7 separate regions of the Homo sapiens genome follow, and regions 1, 2, 3, 5, 6 and 7 are each linked to region 4. Evidence: promoter capture Hi-C in 16 types of primary human blood cells and fetal thymus (Javierre and others, 2016). All regions are on one chromosome and are shown on one strand. Each heading gives the region's core, a stretch centred on a gene start or on the middle of the fragment in contact. The rest is flanking DNA. Distances are from core to core; before and after follow the strand shown.

Region 1 (2,700 bases), core at 83-2,582, 1.3 Mb before region 4:
GGAAATACCCAGGGTAAAAAGCCTTTTAATCTGATTTACCTCAGCATTTCCCAAATTAACTGAACACTGAAAATTTTTTTTGATACACTTCTTAAAATTTTGTGGAAGTTTTATATAGGATATAGTCTATGAACTACTGATGTAAAATTAAAATTGTTTTATTTGCTTGAAATATTATGTTTTATTGGTCAAAGGAATTAAACTATAAATCTTCATGCTAAAAATTATTAAAAGGGATTAGTGTTGTTTACTATGGTTTTTGTGCATGTCTTTATAAAGTCTTATAACTTTTAAAATTGAAATGTTCTATATTGTTTACTAAAGAACATTTTAATGCCTTGGTGGCATCAATACTTTTTTGCAATCATTAATGATATTTAGAAAGTAGACATATAACATGAAAGTAGAACATAATATAGATTGTACAAATCTTGTTTTTTACCCTATTTTCCCCTGCAGAATGTGAAAACCTTTGCATCTTCTGATAGTCTAGCCAAGGTCCAAGAAGTAGCAAGCTGGCTTTTGGAAATGAATCAGGAACTGCTCTCTGTGGGCAGCAAAAGACGACGAACTGGAGGCTCTCTGAGAGGTAACCCTTCCTCAAGCCAGGTAGATGAAGAACAGATGAATCGTGTGGTAGAGGAGGAACAGCAACAGCAACTCAGACAACAAGAGGAGGAGCACACTGCAAGGAATGGTGAAGTTGTTGGAGTAGAACCTAGACCTGGAGGCCAAAATGATTCCCAGCAAGGACAGTTGGAAGAAAACAATAATAGATTTATTTCGGTAGATGAGGACTCCTCAGGAAACCAAGAAGAACAAGAGGAAGATGAAGAACATGCTGGTGAACAAGATGAGGAGGATGAGGAGGAGGAGGAGATGGACCAGGAGAGTGACGATTTTGATCAGTCTGATGATAGTAGCAGAGAAGATGAACATACACATACTAACAGTGTCACGAACTCCAGTAGTATTGTGGACCTGCCCGTTCACCAACTCTCCTCCCCATTCTATACAAAAACAACAAAAGTGAGTATATTCAATATATTGTTAACCTGAGAAACTTTACATATCTATTTTAATTGTAATGAAACTTTCCTCACAGTCTTTGTATTACTAAAAATTAATCTTAAGATGTGTAATAATAAAATGAACTAGTTTTTTGTCTTACAGAAGGTAATGGAAAGTATTACAAGTAGAAATACTGATAATGGGACAATCTGAGTACAAATGGAGGGAAAGTAATTGAGCCTATTACTATGAAAAATTATTAACATCAAATTTTCGTCTAAACCTTGCGTCCCGGGCAGGGATTAGTAGCTTGTGTGGGGTGTAGAGGTTTCGGGTGAAACATGATTTGTGTAAATCAAGTAATGAAGAAACTTTTTATTTACAAAATGCAGCTGCTAGAGTGGGCTATTCACAAGTGTCACTCTAAGGCATAAATTACTCAGAAGTTGCCTCAAATTAGTTCTAGTTATTTATCATTTGAGAATTAGAAATAATGAATATTCATGTAGAGTAGACTTACAAGTTAAACTATGTTTTGGAAAGGAACATTTTAACTTGAATATACTTGTTTTATAGACATTAACATAATGTCTGTGGTAGTTCATCCTCTTACTCCTACTTGCTTATTTCTTACATTTTACAGTGATTTTAGGCCATAAACAATATACAAACTGATTTAACATCGTATCGTTTAACCTAACTTGACTTGGAATGAAGTATCTTACACACTTGGATTAATAATAATTGAAATGCTAAATCATGTTTTACATCTGCTTGTAAAACCTTACTTTCTAAAATGTGTTTGGCCCTAATTTACCTAGCCTATCTGCAAGTCAGATTTTATTTAGCTGGCATGATCTAAGAAGGACGTGACATCAAGTAGTGATTTTTCATCCATTGTACCATCCCTGTCTCAAGATGTTGAAGCAGTAGCTTTGGATCTCAGCCAGATGGCTCTACCACTAACAACTATAGCACCACTTTGTTAAGGCTCAGACCTTTTATAGTGTCATTCCTCCCTTTTGCCCCCCTAGTCTTGATCATCTTCTTCAAGGTTGCTATATCAAAAGGGAGTTTTAACATCTCTTTTTTTCCTGAGGGTTCAGTTAGAGGAATAGGGGTTTAATACTTAAGGTCCAATTGCACTAACTTATTTCAGAAAGAGGTTCAATCAAAACTAAGCCTTGCGGAACAATGCAGAGTTATTGCTGATTTCTGCTACACTTTAAATTAAAAGCAAAAAAAGCTAGTTAGACAAAACATTATCTTTTTCCAAAAGGAAAAGTCATCCTTATATTCTGTAGGAAACCTTCCAGTTCACAAGTTTGACAGGTGCTTTATCTTTTCTTTACCTTCAAGATGTAAAATTTTGTGTATGATGATTACCTTTTTAAAAACGAAGTATACTGAATTTGTTAGTTTTTTTCTAGTGATTCTGAATCATGAATAACAATTATTGTCCTGTACATATAACAAGAATGGACTGGGCTCTAACCATAGAAGGAATACATGTGTGTATGCATTTATGTATATACACATGTACAGTATAGATGTGTGTATGCATTTATGTATATACACATGTACAGTATAGATGTGTGTATGCATTTATTATATAAGTGTGTATGTATAGTTTTTGATATATTGTTGATCATGAGATGATCTGCCTTCGTAAGTATGGCATGAAGAATA
Region 2 (2,700 bases), core at 181-2,680, 1.4 Mb before region 4:
GGTCTTGATATGACGAAGTGAGGCCAAAAATAGCTGACAGAGAAGGCTGCTTCCCTTGTTCACAGTTGGTGTGTGTCTTTGTGTCCCATACAATGGAGGGGATATCCCTGTGTAGGCACAGTAGTGCTGAACATGCTTTTTTTTTTTTTTTCCTTTTAAACTTTTTATTAAAAAAAAGCAACTTGGCATTTAAAAAAATGTAGACATTTTTGCGGCTTGCATTTAGTATTGACTTTAACAGGATTAAGGATTGTGAGGAAGGAAATATATATTCACACTTTTTTGTGTTCCTTAGTTGGAATTCTGCACCTTCCTAGTAGCTTCTCTGACTTCTTAACAGTGATTATTCAAATGGCAGAAACTCTGGGGAAGAGATGTTTCAACAAGGAGATAGGTCTAAGGTGATTCTAGGGTGAAAATATAGGGATTGGATTATATGCCATATGGAGGCCTTCTCTTGTCATCCTCCACTTTCCACAACATTTTTTGTGCAGTCGAAGCCATGTTCAGATGAATTTTAGAAGGCAGCCACTTATAGTTAATGTTATTTACTAGTGAGGACAGTGGGAAGAGTGGTAACTTCATGTACTTTGCCTTGGCAACTTTTGGATTGATAGGGAATTAGAGAGCCTTGAGGGTATATGTTTGTGTGTGTGTGTGTGTTTTAGCACCCACCAGATGACCCCAAAGGCCATGCATAGGCTCATTTCATTGTACTTTGGAGATGGTTCTTGGAGAAGTCTTCTGGTGCTTCTGACATCTCATTGTGTAGAGAAAGAGTTGGCAAACTATTTTTGTAAAGGGCCAGTTAGTAAATATTTTAGGTTTTACAGGCCACATGATCTGTCACAACTTTCAATTCTGTTCTTATAGTGTGAAAGCAGCTGTAGACAACAAGGAAGTGAATGAATGTTGCCGTGCTCCAATTGGCCCATAGGCCGAAGTTTTTGGACTCCTGGTATAGACAACTGCCAAATCCACCAACAAACAGTATGAGCTTTATTACACTACAAAGCCAGGACTGGCTATTTTTGGTGGTCTTTGTTTTCTAGATGAGATGTTTTTCTCTGAGTTCATTTAAAATGATTCTGCATAAAGCACATACTCTACTGTACAAAATACTTTTGCCTTCATGGTGATGAAAACTATGGATTGAGGGTCGGGGTGATACCATCTTTAAAGGGATGCAGCTAAAAAGTAGGGACTACCTGCATTTCTTATCTAAAGATAACCACAGTTGGCATTTAGTGATATACTGGCTTTGTATCATGGCCAAAAGTATCTGTAAAGAAGCTTGTGGGCATACTTTTGAAACCTTCTGAAAATAAATGTAAAGCATTTACTTCGTGTGTAAAATTAGAAGTGTCTATGGTTGGTTTGAATAATATGAGTCAAATTATAAGAGCATTAAAGTTTGATACTGCTATCTATTAAAGTCTTAATCTCTTGCAGTGGCTAATTCAGTGTGTAGAATTACACATCGCAATTTTTGTTTTGTTAATTTCAAGTACTAGTGTATATTAACAAATCACTTAAATCATTTAAATGTGTACTTTAAAAAGCTTTGATGTATATACATATATATACGTATATATATATATGTACACGTATATATATACACGTGTGTGTGTGTGTGTGTGTGTGTGTGTGTGTATTTTTTTTTTTTTTGTGACGGGGTCTCATTCTGTCACCCAGGCTGGAGTGCTGTGGTGTGATCTCAGCTCACTGCAACCTCCACCTCCTGGGCTCAAGTCATCCTCCTACCTCAGCCTCTCGAGTGGCTGGGATCACAGGCATGCGCCACCATGCCCGACTAATTTTTTTGTATTTTTGATAGAGATGGGTAACAACTTTTGGATTGATAGGGAATTAGAGAGCCTCGAGGGTATATGTGTGTGTGTTTTAGCACCCACCAGGTAACCCCAAAGGCCATGCATCATGTTGCCCAGGCTGGTCTCTTAACTCCTGAGCTCAGGTAATCCATCTACCTCGACCTCCCTCAGTGCTGGGATTGCAGGCGTGAGCCACCACACCTGGCCAGCATTGCTATATTTTTAAGAGTGAATCTTTCTCACATGTGTTGTTCAGAAAGTGTAATTCACTTTGTGCAATTTTACATTACAGTTAATATTAAAATATTTGTTTCATATGTCAGCAGATACCAACATTGGATGATGGTATATTTAGTTTCATAAATCCTATTTATTTTAGGATTCCCTTGTTTATGGCAGGGGTGGAGATTACTCTTGCAATAATGATCACTTTTTAGTTAGTTTGAAACCTGCTTTTAGTTTATATGTAGTATTTCTACATATTGTTACTTAAATTGAACTAACAATTTACTTTTTAATTTTTCTTCTTCCTTTTAAAAAAAGAGTATATAATCTGACAATGTTAGTACATCTTTTAGAAGGTCACTATAAAGTTGCTTTCCCTATTTATTTGGAAAGGATTATTTCCTTATTATTTTAAAAAATCTTTTAATTTTTGTCTTTTCAAGTAATTTTATCATTGTCCCAAGCCTAAGGATGAGTGGCAATTTAAAAGACACAAGGTGTGCATCTTCTATCTGCAAATACTCCAAACAGAAATTATTCCAGTTTGTTGATACTTTGAGTGGACCAGGGAAAAATGTGTATGTTTTTAGTGTAACTGAATTGTCATTACAAAAAGATGAGTAAAGTTGCTGTTAAATAATGA
Region 3 (2,700 bases), core at 28-2,527, 1.4 Mb before region 4:
ATGGTAACAAAACCAAATAGAAGAAATCTTATGTTGCTTAATTTTAAGAAAATATGAGGAAACAGAATTGCAATTTATAAATACCCACTTTTTAAATTGTACATGTGATATTTTTGGCTGCTAATAATCTTTTGAATACATTTCTGTATATGGGGAATTGCGGACACATAGTACTTCAAGTCTCCAAACTCTGAGTCTCTCCTGCTAGCAGAAGCCATCCTTCCCTGTGTTAACAACCTTGCTTAAGACAGTTACCATCCATGGGGAAGCTAGTTTCCTCATACCCCTTCCCACGATACTCATGTTTCCATACCTGTAACTGGAGTCAGACTATATCATGCTGCACCTTTGCAGTCACAATGGGAAGAAAAGGATTATATGTAATTTTTTTAAAGTTTTTTTTTTTTTTTTTTTTTTTTGCTGACAAAGCAGCAAAACCTTCAGGAATATGTACAGAAATGGGTGATGATGATGATGTGAGAGAGAAAGAAACATGCTTTTGCATTTGGCTGAATGTATTGGTATGGTGCAGTTATCAGAGATTCTGAATTCATTGTTCTCGTTCAAGTAGCCAGGAGTGGTTCTAATTGTTTGCTCCTTTGGTCTCAGCATTGACTTATACTAAATGAAGTTGAATGCCTAAAAACTCATAGCATAATATAGAGGAAGAAGTCAAAAGATTAAAGGAAATAGAACTGATGGAGTGGATTTATCACTGTGACCATTCACTTACCTCCCCTATTCCCTCTCCAGTATTCTCTACTAAGAGGTCTGGAAGACACTTCATTCACCAACCTAATGAGAAATACTTTGAGGGCAGTGCCAGCATATATGAAAAGTAATTCAATTGCTTTTGTCTGTAGGCTGGAGGAGATACTTTCATTGAAATTGTCTTTTTTACTTCAGGGGGTGTGGCCAGATTCTAGGTAAGGTCCAGGCATCATTTTCATAAGGTAGCTTGACAGGCATGATGATCAGAGATGCACTGACTTGAATTCTTTTTGGCTGTGACTAAATGATCATGGATCCCTACGTCTAAAATAGAGAGGAAGCCTATTAAGATCCTACTTTATCTGTATGAGCAAAAAATTTTAGGTCTCATAGGAGAAGGCCTTACTTGAACTACCATAAGAGTGAGTTGGCCAGCCTGGGCAACATGGTGAAACCCTGTCTCTACAAAAAACACAAAAGTTAACTTTTGTGTTTTGGGCATGGCTGCGTGAGCCTGTGGTCCTGGCTGCTCAGGAGGCTGCCCCCTTTTTGCAGTTTACTTCATGGGTTATATGAGAAAACAGGAAGGAGGGGGATATCACCGAGAGATTCTGATATTGGAGCTGTGTGCAATAACTGATAAGTCTCTGGTTCTTACCTCCATATGAGGAACAGAGAGAGTCTTGTTTGTACAAGGCTTAGTTATAATCTGTCAGGTTTGAGGATCTTGATTGGAAGCATAGACTTGATCTGTATTTGTGGTTTCTCATTTCAAATAGCCTCTCAATGTTGGATAAATTTGCATGTTCATGTTTTATAGAGTCAGAACTCAATTTCCTAGTATTCCTTGCAGCTAGGGCACAAGCATATGACCTAGGCTTTATTGATCAGATGCATCTGTGTAAGACATGAATTCAGGGTCAGAGAAATGCAGGGTAACAGCTCTTGCCTGGAATTGCTTTCTAATGTGCATGTTGAGTGACAAGATATTGAGCTGTTTAGAGGTAGCAGTGACAGAGATACTAGTGAGCCTTGTTGTCCTAGGCTCAGCTTTCATGGTACTAGGGCTGAAGGATGGGAACAATTTGGTGGGGAGACTTAGGTATTTTTCCTGGCATCATATCTCCAAGTGGATTCTTCAGTTCTCTGATAATTCTTGGAATCCCCTAATATATTAATAAATTTATTTTCTCTTGAAACCACCTCAAATAGATTCTGTTTATAGCTTAGAGCCCTGATTGATCGTCTAACTTTAAAGATTTTATTTATCGTCAAAATATTTTATTTTTCTAATTGAGATCTAAAAATTGTCAAGCACTTATACTCTATTTTTTCCCTTCCTAGAGCTCTGCAATCCTTTGCTGTCATTTTTTCTTACCAGGAATGCCAATTTTTGTACCTTTTGAATTGCTTTTTCTTCTTTGCTACTTGGCTTGAGCTCCACTATTGTTATGAAACCTTTCTTATACCATCCCAGCAGCCTGATGGATTTTTTTCTTCCTCTGAATTCCAGTAGCACTTGTTTAGACATTAAGTGCAAGGTGTTTTTTTGTTTTGTTTTGTTTTTCTGTATGCATCTTAGCTTCCGCACTAAATGATAAGCTCCCTGAAAACTAGTACTATGCCTCTTTATATCGCTTGCATTGTCCAACAGAATGTCTTGCACCTATTAGATTCAAGGTTCAGCACAGTCACCCTCATAATATATAGTGATGAGAGTTGCTGAGAATCACAGTGATGCCAGGCTGAATGAGCTGAGATAATAAACTAGTTAGATGCATAGTCTGGCCATGAGGCCCAATTTCCATCTTCCTCAAGGAGTCTGAGACTTGCCTCTCAGTAGTTTTCGTTAGTAGGTGATCATATCTTCTGAATTACTGTCTTCTTAATGTTTTATGAGTTTTTTTTTGCCTTGACAAAAGCCTTCTATTTCTCTCATGCTTCCTAGTTCCTTCCATTGTGCCCTCTGCAATTTCTTTTCACTAAGCT
Region 4 (2,700 bases), core at 74-2,573:
TTAACATTTAGGAACCATATAAGCAAAGTCAAGCCTGTAAACTGAGGGTAGAAATTAAGTTAATGGTAAATTATAAAGACCTTAACCTTTGTTATCAAATCTATCCAGACACCAGTGACTTATCAACAGTACTTATTTGAAGCTCAGAACTACCCATGGCACATTTTCTTAATTCAAAAAGCACCATCTTGCTTCTCTCCAAGTGCTGTACTAAAAATGATCACCACAGGTGCCAAGGCTGCAACCAAGAGCTGACATTTCCTTAAAGTCTCCCACCACAGGACCAACAACAGACCAAGATGCCTGCTACAATATACAAGCGCCAACTTAAGGAAAATACAAACCAAGAATAAGCTACTTACTGGTTCCTTGGGTCCTGGTGACGAGCGTCTTTCCAATATTTCTTATATTGAACATAGCAGGTGCTTTCACATCATACCAATCTTTCTTAGAAAATGGATCAACCCTGGATTTTAAGAAGATGCTTAAGTTCCATTGCAGATCAATTCTTACTGTATTTTTCACTGTTAATGGTATTTCCCATTAATATTTTAAAAAGCTAACCGGCAATTTGATACCAAAGTATATCTCACAGTGAGGTGAGGGGAACAAACATAAATCTAGCTCTTCCCACTGTACGTTTCACTGCATGCATCAGACTTTGAAAGGTTATGTCCACTTCCCACCCTCATCGGTCCATCCACTACACAGGCACTTAGAATAACATGCATCGGTCCTTCCACTACACAGGCACGAGTAACATGCAATCTCATTAACTTTGCTGGCACGTAATGGCATGTACTGGTAACTAAGAGACTGCATGGCCCCAAAGCTTAGCAGGAGCTCGCAGATTCCAGCGGGACCAAGCAAAGGCGAGATTGACGGGTCCTGAATGGATAGAAGGGTGCTTTCCTCAACTCCTGCTGTCGCAGTGCCATCAAACACTCGCAGAATTGAGGCAGCTCGTGAGCCCACAAAACTAACATTCCAGCCGAGTCGCGCCGGCAAGCCGGCTCAAACGCGACGCGCGCAAGGACCAGAAGGCCTGGGAAAGGCAGCCGACCTGCCGCTACTCAACACCGACCCTCCAGGCCGCGTTCCTGGGTGCACCAACCCGCCACGGCCCGCACAATCCGACTGGAATCCTCGCCATCCGGCCTACGCCGCGATCTAGGACCAGCCCGCCGATTCCAGCAGACCCCCAAAAAGCAAGACGCCACGACAGTCGCGACTTACACTTTCTTCTTGGCTCCCTTTTTGCCGCCTTTCGTAAGGCGCTTGTTCTTGCCAACCGCCATGGTGCTGGTCAGAGAGCCAAAAGGGCGGAAGTGGGAGTCGCGCGAGAACTTAGGCGTACGGGGGCGGGGCGCGCCGTCTACGTGACCTTTGCCCTGTTATTCTTCCGGCCTCAAGAATTCCGGGACAGTAGAGAGCGCCACTCTTTCTACTGTGGTTGCGACATCGCCATCGTGTGTGGGGAGGCCGCGCGGCATGCCGCGGGCTCACTGGAGGCTGCGCTGTGTAGACCAAGGCGTCGGTGGCCTGACGTGCAGGCGTCTGGTTACCTGTGGTTTCTGTGGCTGTGACGTCGGGAAGTAAGTTTCTGTAAAACGAGACGCCCACTCAACATCGTTCAAAGCTGAACTCACCGTCTAACCCCCAAACCTGCTTTTTGAGAGCATTGGCTTTGGAGTCAGTCAGCGGATCTGATTCAAATGCCGGTTTCAACAGGGCTTTGCTTGAGACCGACCTCTCCACGCTTGTTTCCTCATGCGTAATATGGGGGTGATAAAACGGTCGGCTTCATGAGGTTTCATAGGGCTAAATGAGCATCACTCCAGAGATGCTAGCGACGTTCTGCTTGTTGATGTGGATGCTGGTTCATCTCAGGTGTTGTTGCTTTGTGAACATTCACTAAGCTCTACGCTTATTTGTGTCCTTTTCTATATGTCTGTTATATATTGATTAAAAGGTTTTTTTAAAATAGAGTGAGACCGAACTCGTTGGCTCACACCTGTAATCCCAGCACTTTAAGAGGCTGAGGCAGGGGAATCAACTGAAGCCAGGAATTGGAGACTAGCCTGGGCCACACAGCCAGACCCCGTCTTTACAAGAAAATGATAAAATTAGCAGGGCGTTGGCCGGGCGCGGTGGCTCACGCCTGTAATCCCAGCACTTTGGGAGGCTGAGGCGGGCGGATCGCCTGAGCTCAGGAGTTCGAGACCAGCCTGGCCAACATAGTGAAACCCCGTCTCTACTAAACATACAAAAAATTAGCCGGGTGGGTGCCTGTAATCCCAGCTACTCGGGAGGCTGAGGCACGAGAATCTGAGCTCAGGAGGCGGAAGTTGCAGTGAGCCGAGATCGCGCCATTGCCTGGCCAACAAGAGTGAAACTGCGTCAAAAAAAAAAAAGTGAGATCTCCAAATGTTTCCATTTTTGCAACTAATCCAAACCCGCCTCCCCCATTTTTTTTAACTGTAGGGGTTAACAGAGCACATCCTGGCAAGGTGTGGCTGGCTAGCTCAAGTGTGCAGCCCTCGGAAAGCATCTGGCCCATACAGGCTTGGTACTCAGCCAGTGGTGTGTTGAGTTCCCTTCTCTAACTTCCCCTCTGGCAGAAAACCCTGTGACCAAGCCAAAACCAACCCTTACTTACAAGGCCCCCTGCAAGCTTTTAAACTTACAATCCCTTCCAGT
Region 5 (2,700 bases), core at 50-2,549, 1.3 Mb before region 4:
CCTCAAGATGATCACTTAACGTTTTCATTTTGAATCACCTGTTGTCCTTTCCATTCCTGTTACATTGTAAAATTAACACTCCACTAGGATGACTATAAACCAACTTAGAGCTCCTTGTTTTATAAGATGTCTCGGTTATCCATTGTCACCTGACCAATCACCGTCAAAGCTTTGTGGATTATAACAAACGAGAATTTTATTATTTCTCATTGTTCTTATAGGTTTGTAATTTGAGGAGGGCTGATCTGGCCATTGTTAACTCTGGGTGGCAGTCAGATCATGGCTGGAGGTGCAAAAGTGGGGGTCTAGAACAGCTGAGGGCTGACCCAGAAATTCTTTTTCCGTATCATCTCCTAACATCTCTATATAATACGGTCTTTTTACCTGGGCTAGTTTGGGCTTCTTCAGAGCATGGTGGCCTGAAGGTACTACTTAGCCAGCACATCAGGACTACCAAGTGAGTGTTCCAGCAAGCAAGGTGGAAGCTGAATCTCCTTTTTATGACTCAGCCTGTGAAGTCACATGATACCATTTTTACTATCTCTAATGGTCCAAACAGTCACAAAGGTCTGGCCTGTTATTAAGGCAAGAGGACATGGCCTCTCCCTCTTAGTGAAAGGAGTCTCAGAGTCACCTTGCAAGAAGAGCATGCAAGATGGGGGACAGCGTTGTGACTACCTTTGAGAATACAATTTGCTATAAGAGTTCATAATATCTTTGATGTTATTCCTGTTTCTTTTTTTAAATTTGGGCTTCATAAAAATCAGGCACATTAAAACATTCCATATTTAATATGTAAATGTCTTATACAATACTTTATTTCAGTTATCTAGAACTCATTTATATCTGACAAACTTACATATCTGAAACACTGACAAAGAAGTGTCTCCGAACAACTAATTTAGGAAGTAACACAACTAAGTTAGGATGTAACATTCTGTGGAATTGGATAGATGTTCTGTTACAAAGCACAGGTTTAGGAATTAGACATACCAGGGTTAAAATCTCAACTCTACTACCTGGCAGCTGTGTTACCTTGGGCAAATTTGTAAGCCTTTCTGAGCCTTAGTTTTGTCTGTAACAAGTAGACAAGGATAATGATACCTCAGGGTTTCGGCGTGGTGATTAAGTGATACAAAGCATGATCTAGTAGAAACTCTTGTCAGTGTTTAATCTCTTCCCCTTATCATTGTTCCAGTCTGAAACAATGCGTACGTATTTTCTAAGCCCTATAGCTGCAGACTTCCTTTATATCTCTTACTGATCTCTGATAGTCTCCTTAGACTTATTTATCTTTCTATCCCAAGATCTTTGTATTACAGGCATACTAAAGAATAGTAGGAATTGAATTTTATTTCTTTGTTTCTAATTTTTCTTGATAGCCAGTTAGTGTTTTACTTACTGTAAAGAATGAAAACTTAGGCTCTCAGCTTAATTTAAACCTCAGCTACAAAAAATAACATTGATATTTTTCAGAAAAATTATTTTTTTGAGTATGTAATATTGACAGCGTAAAAGGCCAGTGGTATCAACTGTCAGCCCGTCCAAGAATTAAGTTCTAAATATGTATTTTCTATTGCTTAATCTTATACTTGTTTTCTGTACTTTAATTCTATACTTAAATTCTGTGCTGAAGTACTTTCAGTTAATATTAATAAATCTCACATACTTGCATAGCACATTACTGAAAATTATATAAATGAAGTATGGTACTATGTTTATCTTTCTCAAAATATATTGATTTTTATTTATAATTGCATCAGAAACTCAACAGTATAGGAAATAATGTCCCCCTCCTATTTTACCTATTTAAAGCACCAGCACTCCTTCAGATTTTTTATGTTTCCATAAGTGTAGCTTTTTATTTTTCATAAGATAAATTTTTATAATTTGTCAAACTGTCAATTTGGTTGAGCCTTCTGCATTATAGCTTAATTTTTTAAAGCTGTGTAGCAAAAAAACACACAATTACTTACTGTATTTTAAAAGAATATTAGTATTATTTCCTTAGTCCTAATTATTAGTATAATTAGTATTATGACTCCCTGGCCTGCAATACTCTTAAGAATTTTTATAAGAGAAAGATATTATTGGTAAGTAATGTTTAATTTATTTTAACTGAAAGTTTAAACTGTTATGTTTAAACTGTTTATGGACTTAAGTACTGACATTAAAGAAGTTATTGTCTTTCTTAGACTTAAATTTTATTTTGAGAATTATGGAAAATTAGGTTACTTTAAATCACTTACTCTGTCATTACATGAGGCTTTTTGCATGACTGAAATACCTGTAATTACTGTGTCATTTTTGTCATAGTTGACTTAAAGGTGTAACTATAATAATCACGAACTAAATTCTTGGTGAGCAGCTGTGTAAGGCCATTTTAACAGCTGGGGTAACCCAGCTCAGCCTGTAAGAGTTAAGCTTAATCATGAGACAGGTTATGTTAAGTCATTGAAGACTTCATACTGGGCATTTCTGAAATACTTAGAAAATTCAGTGGGATAGTTGGATTTTTGTTTTATCTTAAGTACTTTTTAAAATGCTTAATGAAAGGATGAGGAAAAGTATTTTAACAACTAAAGTTCTTAGGCACAAATAATAGAAATAAAATCCAAAGTTTACTCATTAAAAAAAAAAAGTCAAATATACTCTATATGCTAGTGTTTAGACCACTACAGTAGGTAGGAGAGGAAAAAA
Region 6 (2,700 bases), core at 187-2,686, 1.3 Mb before region 4:
TTTTATGCTTCCAGAGATATGCAGGAGAAAGTTAGTATAAATATTTCTATGGCTGATTCATTGAAGTGTCTGTTAAACTTGGAAAAATCCTTAAGGAATTTTTGTGCTGTAAGAATGTGGCTTGTTTTTGTTTACTAAATGTTTTTAAGTGACTGTGCAGCTGTGATTTTGAATATTTCATTTTCTAAATTTAACGAAACTCAGATACAGTTTGACACTTAATTTTAAAAGTAATTACTATGTACTAATTTTGAAAATGAAAAAGAAACACACATGGTATAGTCATTTAGGTGGTACTTTTGGGAGTCTAGAGTAGCTCCTAAATATCAGAAAATGCTGAAATAGAGAAAAAAAATACAGTACTTTGAAGAGAAGAAAGAATAGGGTGGTGGTATGAGCAAATTTAGAGAGGGAATTTAATAGGGTACCTGTTTTGTGGTGGGGTTTTTTTGGTTTGTTTTGTTTTTGTTTGTTTGTTTTTGAGTGAGGAAACTAAAATGTGGCTTTCTAAGCTTCTCTTACTTGCATATATCTTCCATTGGTACTTGGAAAATATAAACATTTCCAGATCCTTTGGTGTTTTTTATGGTCACTACTTACTTTATCAATAAAGGCATTAATTACTGTCAGTTATCACATATCAGACCATTCTATTTTAGATCCTTTGGTCTTTTTCTCTTTAAGAATGTTTCACACATCATGCATCAACATGAGTAAGCAATGTAATTGTCGGTTTTCTTTGCATTCTCTGTGCTGTGCAAGCCACCGGCTATAAATAAGATGATGATCCCCCATGCCCATGCACAAATGAAAAGTCACAGTGATAAAACTACAAACAAACCATTATAGTACAAAATAATAACTGCTTAAATGGACCTACGTACAAAGTACTGTCAGAGTATGAGGAGGCACTCAGAGCTCAATATGAGTGGTTCAGGAAGGGCTTCACAGTAACCCTGAATTAAAACATGAAGATGTTTGCTAAGTAGGTGATCAGAGGAGTGATAGAGGGAACTTGTATCATTGCTTGGGATCGTGTCTTGTCTTATGTTTTTTCATATTAAGTATACTGCTGCAAATTACATCTTGCCGTCAATTTATTAATGTTGAAAAAATACGTATTGAGCACCTAGAGTAGAGAACTTTCCTAGAAACTGTAGATATAACAGTGAACTTGATAGACAAAGGCCATGCCCTCATGGAGCTTAGATTGTAGTTTGGGGAGACAGAAAATAAATACTACTGTTAATATTTTGATGACAGTAAAATAGGGTAATAGAATAAGGTATGATTTGGGATGTAGAAGAGGCACTACTCTAGTTACTTTCTATACATAAACTCATTTAATCCTTAAAATCACCTTGTGAAGTACGTTGTATTGTATTTTACCTGTTTTACACGTGAGGAATCTCAGGCATAGGAAGGTTCTTGCCCCTTAGCTAGTAAGTAATGTAGCTAGGACACTAACTCAAGCAGTCTTATTCCAGCATCACAGCCACTGCAGGAAACGGATCTGGAGTAGGCATTTGTTGAACAGACCCTTAGTGTCCAAATGTTTTAAGGGTTAACTTTTGCCATATAATCTTGGAATTTTAAATGTGTAATTCTCACCTTTCCCAACAATTTATGATGGTCTCAATATCTAATTACTGATAATACTGCCTTCTGTATGTTTTTGTCATCAGATGATGTTTTAGTATTGGGTTGTGCCCTAGTTGTCAGATAGGAGTACAAAGCGACTTAGCACATGATTTATAAATCTGTAACTACACTATGGAAACAACTTGTATGATTTTGTCTTTTATGTAACAAATTTTTAATTAGGTAACAATTTGTATAATTTTGACATCAAAGGGCAAGGCTATTTAAATTTGTAAATATAAACTAAGTTAGGTTTTACAGAAACTAACTTAATGTTGAGGCTTGTAATATAGAAGACAGATGAAAAATATGCTAAAAATAAACTTGGAACTAAGCTCCTGGCAAGGTAAACAAGTGTGAAATAAGTCCACAGTCCCTTGTCTGCAAAGCAGAAATCCATCATGCTCTGAAAACTGAAAATTTAAAAATAAAGGTAGCAAAACCTAACCCAAACTAACATAAAACAGTCATCTTTATTATTTATCTGAATATTCATATATTTTGCTGGAGAAACACTAATGTGTGATATACTGGAAGTGCTCTGTAATAAATAGTATATGCACTCTGTTACCTTTCTACAATTCAAAATATTCTGAATTTAGGAACACAGCTGTCTCCAAGAGCATGGAACTAAATCCAGAGACCTTAGAGTTTTACAACTGTCACCCACTCATAAAAAACTGAACACACTTTGAAATGTCAGAGTAGTCTAAGCTTTATCTTAAGTCTCTGAGTACATGCATATTAAATACTTTAAAACATACATATATAGATGAGTACCTAAAGTTTATTAACCTAATTATAGGCTATTATAACCATATAATACAATGATAGTTTGGAGCTTTTATATTACTTTTCTTCAGTGATTAAAATACAGCTCATGCTAATAGACTTATTCTTTAAATGAGTGTAGAGAACCTCAACCACATTTTTTTTAATTGTCCCAGTATTTCCATGGGAAATTAACACCACAAAATTAATTTTAATCTGCTGATATATAGTATGCATACTCTCTGTGTGTGTTGCTACTGTTACAAAGATGAATAAGACAGCACACCT
Region 7 (2,700 bases), core at 125-2,624, 1.4 Mb before region 4:
AAACTTATTAATGATGTTGTTAAATTTTCAATTGTGATGACAGTAAGGAAAAGACATAATTGAGAGCTACCTCCAATTGTTTATATCAAATGTGGTAATTAAGAGGATTTTGGTGACCTATTTATGGCTGAATTAAGGCAAAATAGCTTTTATATCCGATTCTTTCCTCTTCCCTTCTCTTGTTCTGTGTGCTTACTATCATAATAATTGAGTATACATTAATTTTCTTTAAGTATTTATATTTTAAATAAGGTTTTGATGTCAGTAGAGACTTTTTTTTTTCCTTGAAGGTAAGTACCCTTTAAACCACTAATTTGTCACTAGAGTCTATAGTCGCTTCCATATATAATAGGTAGCACAGCTTCTCAGGTCATGTCCTGCTTTGCTGCTCTGCTGACCAATAATACACCTTGGAGATACTGGTTCTGGTTATATGAATAGAACAATTAAATTGTTCTTCATTAGATGGATCTTTGATTACTAATCTTACTCAGAAAGGCTCAACTGGACTTGGATTATTCTAATTGCCAATACTGTTTTTGCACAAATGTCTGCAAATCATTGAACAGTAATACTGACCCCTTTTTCTTCCAATAAAGTTATTGCAGTAATCACATCATTGCAGAGAATATTTCTTAAAAGCTTTTTTCAATATTTACTTCTTTAATGAAAAACTTAATCCAGATTAAGCCACATACATAGACGTCTTGACTTTATTATTTTGAATACCTGAGATTTCCAAAATCTCTTTAACTGTCTTCACACAATTTCTAGTCTGTCATTTTAATTAATTACAACTGTTCATTTCTTCTGCTTTTGTTTCCTCTTCATGTGCTGCCTAGCGTTGCTAGAGTTTCATCAGTTTCCTGCCTTGAGAGGTTTCTAGTACAAATTAACATTTTCCCTTCCTAGTTTATGCAGGTTCCTTCCTGGTAATTTTTATCTTTTTGATCTGTTTCATTCTGCATGTTAGTTATTTGGAACCATTCTACTGTGCTCAAATGAACAGTCCTATCCCTAGTTCTCTTATTCCTTTTTCATTTCATATTTTATACCCTTTTTCCTCAGTCTGTCTTAAAGAATAAAGTGTTTTCATTTCAAAAGCTTATTATCTCTGTTTTTAATCTTAGCCCTTCTTTCCTCTACTATTTTTCTTCCTCTTAATGCTCCATGCTGGGTTCTCTGCCTTATCAGACTTAATCTTGAAAAGTACGTTACTTCCTTCCCATTATCTCCAAGGTTGTTATAGTCCATTCTAGGTGTCTCCAATTTCTCAACTCTTACTCAATTACTTTCTGAAGTTTGACTATTATTTCTACTAGTGTTCAGCTTTCTTAAGTGTAAGTAAACACATTTCTTACTTAACTAGGTAGATAAACATTAGCTGGACGGATCTGGCCGTAAACATGCTATTATTTCCAAGATAAAACTGAGTTCCAAATGGCTAAATCTTTGTCTTTTCACTTTTCATCCATTCCTGTCTTTTTTAGCATTTGTTTTTTTGCTGCTTAACATTCACTTCTCCTTTGTCTTCTGTAATAAACCTTAATGGTTTTTCTCCTCTCTCTGGCTAAATGTTTGTTTTCTTTGTTACTGCTTTCTTCTTTTATATACCACTTATATATAAATTGGGTTGAAGCTTTGCTCTTAGCTCTTTTTCATTACACATCATTTTGAGGAGATGGTCTCGTGTTCATTATGTAGATTATCACAAATTTGATGACTCAGAAATACCACATTTTTCTTAGTGACCTGTTTTACCACTTTCTCAGTCGCCAGGTCCTTAGCACCCCAAAATTGTTATTTCCCAGTGGAAAGTTTGTCTTGTACAATGCTTGCTATATGGTTGGAACTAAGTAAATGCTTTTTGAATCATGAACTAACTCCTTATCTGTCTTTTTTTTTCTTAAGATAATGGTTTTAACTGTCCACCTATTCTCATGTCACAAGCCCTGTAATATCTCTGACCACTTCTTGTCTACACTTGTTAATATTAGTTGTCATATTTTGGTCCTAAGTTTGACTAATGAGGAAGATGACATTTTTGTCTGCAGATGGTGGAAATAAAAATCACAGAGATTGTGATTTCCTTATGGTTTTGTGGGTAATGGTGGAGTTTAAACTTACAACGAAGTTTCTGGTGACATGTTTCCTAGTTTTCACAGAAAACATTCTTTTTTTTTTTGAGACAGAAAGTCTCACTGTGTCGCCCAGGCTGGAGTGCAGTGGTGTGATGTGTCGGCTCACTGCAACCTCTGCCTCCTGGATTCAAGTGATTCTCATGCGTCAGCCTCCAAGTAGCTGGGATTACAGGCGCCCACCACCACGCCCAGCTAATTTTTGTATTTTTAGTATAGATGGAGTTTCACCATGTTGACCAGGCTGGTCTTGAACTCCTGGCCTCAAGTGACCCACCTGTCTCAGCCTCCCAAAGTGCTGGGATTACAGGCATAAGCCACCACACCCAGCCAAAAACATTCTTTATAATGATACAAGTAATATACCAGACAAGAAATTACTCAGTGTACTATGTGAGATTAAAAAAAAAAAAAAAAAAAGACTGGAAGTGGAAGTGGGAGTACTTCAAATTCTTGTCTGATGAGGTAAAGATTTTAACTTGGTGGAAGGAATAGAAATCAAGGATGTGAGAAATTTTTCATTAATTAGAATTTCGAGATTCTTCTTTTAAGAATGCAGTGA

What was found. Contacts are between HindIII fragments. The CHiCAGO score rates a contact against its expected background, and 5 or more counts as called.
Region 1: a fragment that was not itself captured here is called in contact with the fragment with the promoter of RPS3A in region 4 in 1 of 17 cell types (naive CD4 T cells); the score reaches 5.2 in naive CD4 T cells.
Region 2: a contact is called between a fragment that was not itself captured here and the fragment with the promoter of RPS3A in region 4, in 1 of 17 cell types (fetal thymus). The highest score is 8.8, in fetal thymus.
Region 3: a contact is called between a fragment that was not itself captured here and the fragment with the promoter of RPS3A in region 4, in 4 of 17 cell types (fetal thymus, naive CD8 T cells, total CD4 T cells and 1 more). The highest score is 10.6, in fetal thymus.
Region 5: a fragment that was not itself captured here is called in contact with the fragment with the promoter of RPS3A in region 4 in 3 of 17 cell types (naive CD8 T cells, naive CD4 T cells and total CD4 T cells); the score reaches 6.6 in naive CD8 T cells.
Region 6: a fragment that was not itself captured here is called in contact with the fragment with the promoter of RPS3A in region 4 in 1 of 17 cell types (naive CD8 T cells); the score reaches 7.6 in naive CD8 T cells.
Region 7: a fragment that was not itself captured here is called in contact with the fragment with the promoter of RPS3A in region 4 in 2 of 17 cell types (fetal thymus and naive CD8 T cells); the score reaches 9.1 in fetal thymus.

What each region holds. Positions count from the first base shown.
Region 1 is chr4:152,409,632-152,412,331 of GRCh38, reverse strand. FBXW7 (F-box and WD repeat domain containing 7) reads left to right here. Exons shown (of 14, transcript NM_001349798.2): 4 at 460-1,029. The coding sequence starts at 529. Among named protein-coding and RNA genes, the nearest start is that of FBXW7-AS1, 73 kb to the right of the region's middle. The HindIII fragment of the contact is 8,756 bases long and covers 1-2,700 here.
Region 2 is chr4:152,529,024-152,531,723 of GRCh38, reverse strand. The region is part of intron 2 of FBXW7 (F-box and WD repeat domain containing 7); the gene reads left to right. Among named protein-coding and RNA genes, the nearest start is that of FBXW7, 5.7 kb to the left of the region's middle. The HindIII fragment of the contact is 269 bases long and covers 1,296-1,564 here.
Region 3 is chr4:152,498,216-152,500,915 of GRCh38, reverse strand. The region is part of intron 2 of FBXW7 (F-box and WD repeat domain containing 7); the gene reads left to right. Among named protein-coding and RNA genes, the nearest start is that of MIR3140, 10 kb to the right of the region's middle. The HindIII fragment of the contact is 2,847 bases long and covers 1-2,700 here.
Region 4 is chr4:151,098,251-151,100,950 of GRCh38, reverse strand. It overlaps RPS3A (ribosomal protein S3A), which reads right to left and starts at 1,323. Exons shown (of 6, transcript NM_001006.5): 1 at 1,237-1,323; 2 at 363-466. The coding sequence starts at 1,298. RefSeq lists enhancers at 400-983, 1,004-1,563, 984-1,568, 867-2,066, 2,344-2,413. The HindIII fragment of the contact is 1,842 bases long and covers 835-2,676 here.
Region 5 is chr4:152,390,116-152,392,815 of GRCh38, reverse strand. The region is part of intron 4 of FBXW7 (F-box and WD repeat domain containing 7); the gene reads left to right. Among named protein-coding and RNA genes, the nearest start is that of FBXW7-AS1, 54 kb to the right of the region's middle. The HindIII fragment of the contact is 2,255 bases long and covers 172-2,426 here.
Region 6 is chr4:152,371,919-152,374,618 of GRCh38, reverse strand. All of the region lies in intron 4 of FBXW7 (F-box and WD repeat domain containing 7), which reads left to right. Among named protein-coding and RNA genes, the nearest start is that of FBXW7-AS1, 36 kb to the right of the region's middle. The HindIII fragment of the contact is 1,843 bases long and covers 515-2,357 here.
Region 7 is chr4:152,462,776-152,465,475 of GRCh38, reverse strand. The region is part of intron 2 of FBXW7 (F-box and WD repeat domain containing 7); the gene reads left to right. Among named protein-coding and RNA genes, the nearest start is that of MIR3140, 25 kb to the left of the region's middle. The HindIII fragment of the contact is 535 bases long and covers 1,107-1,641 here.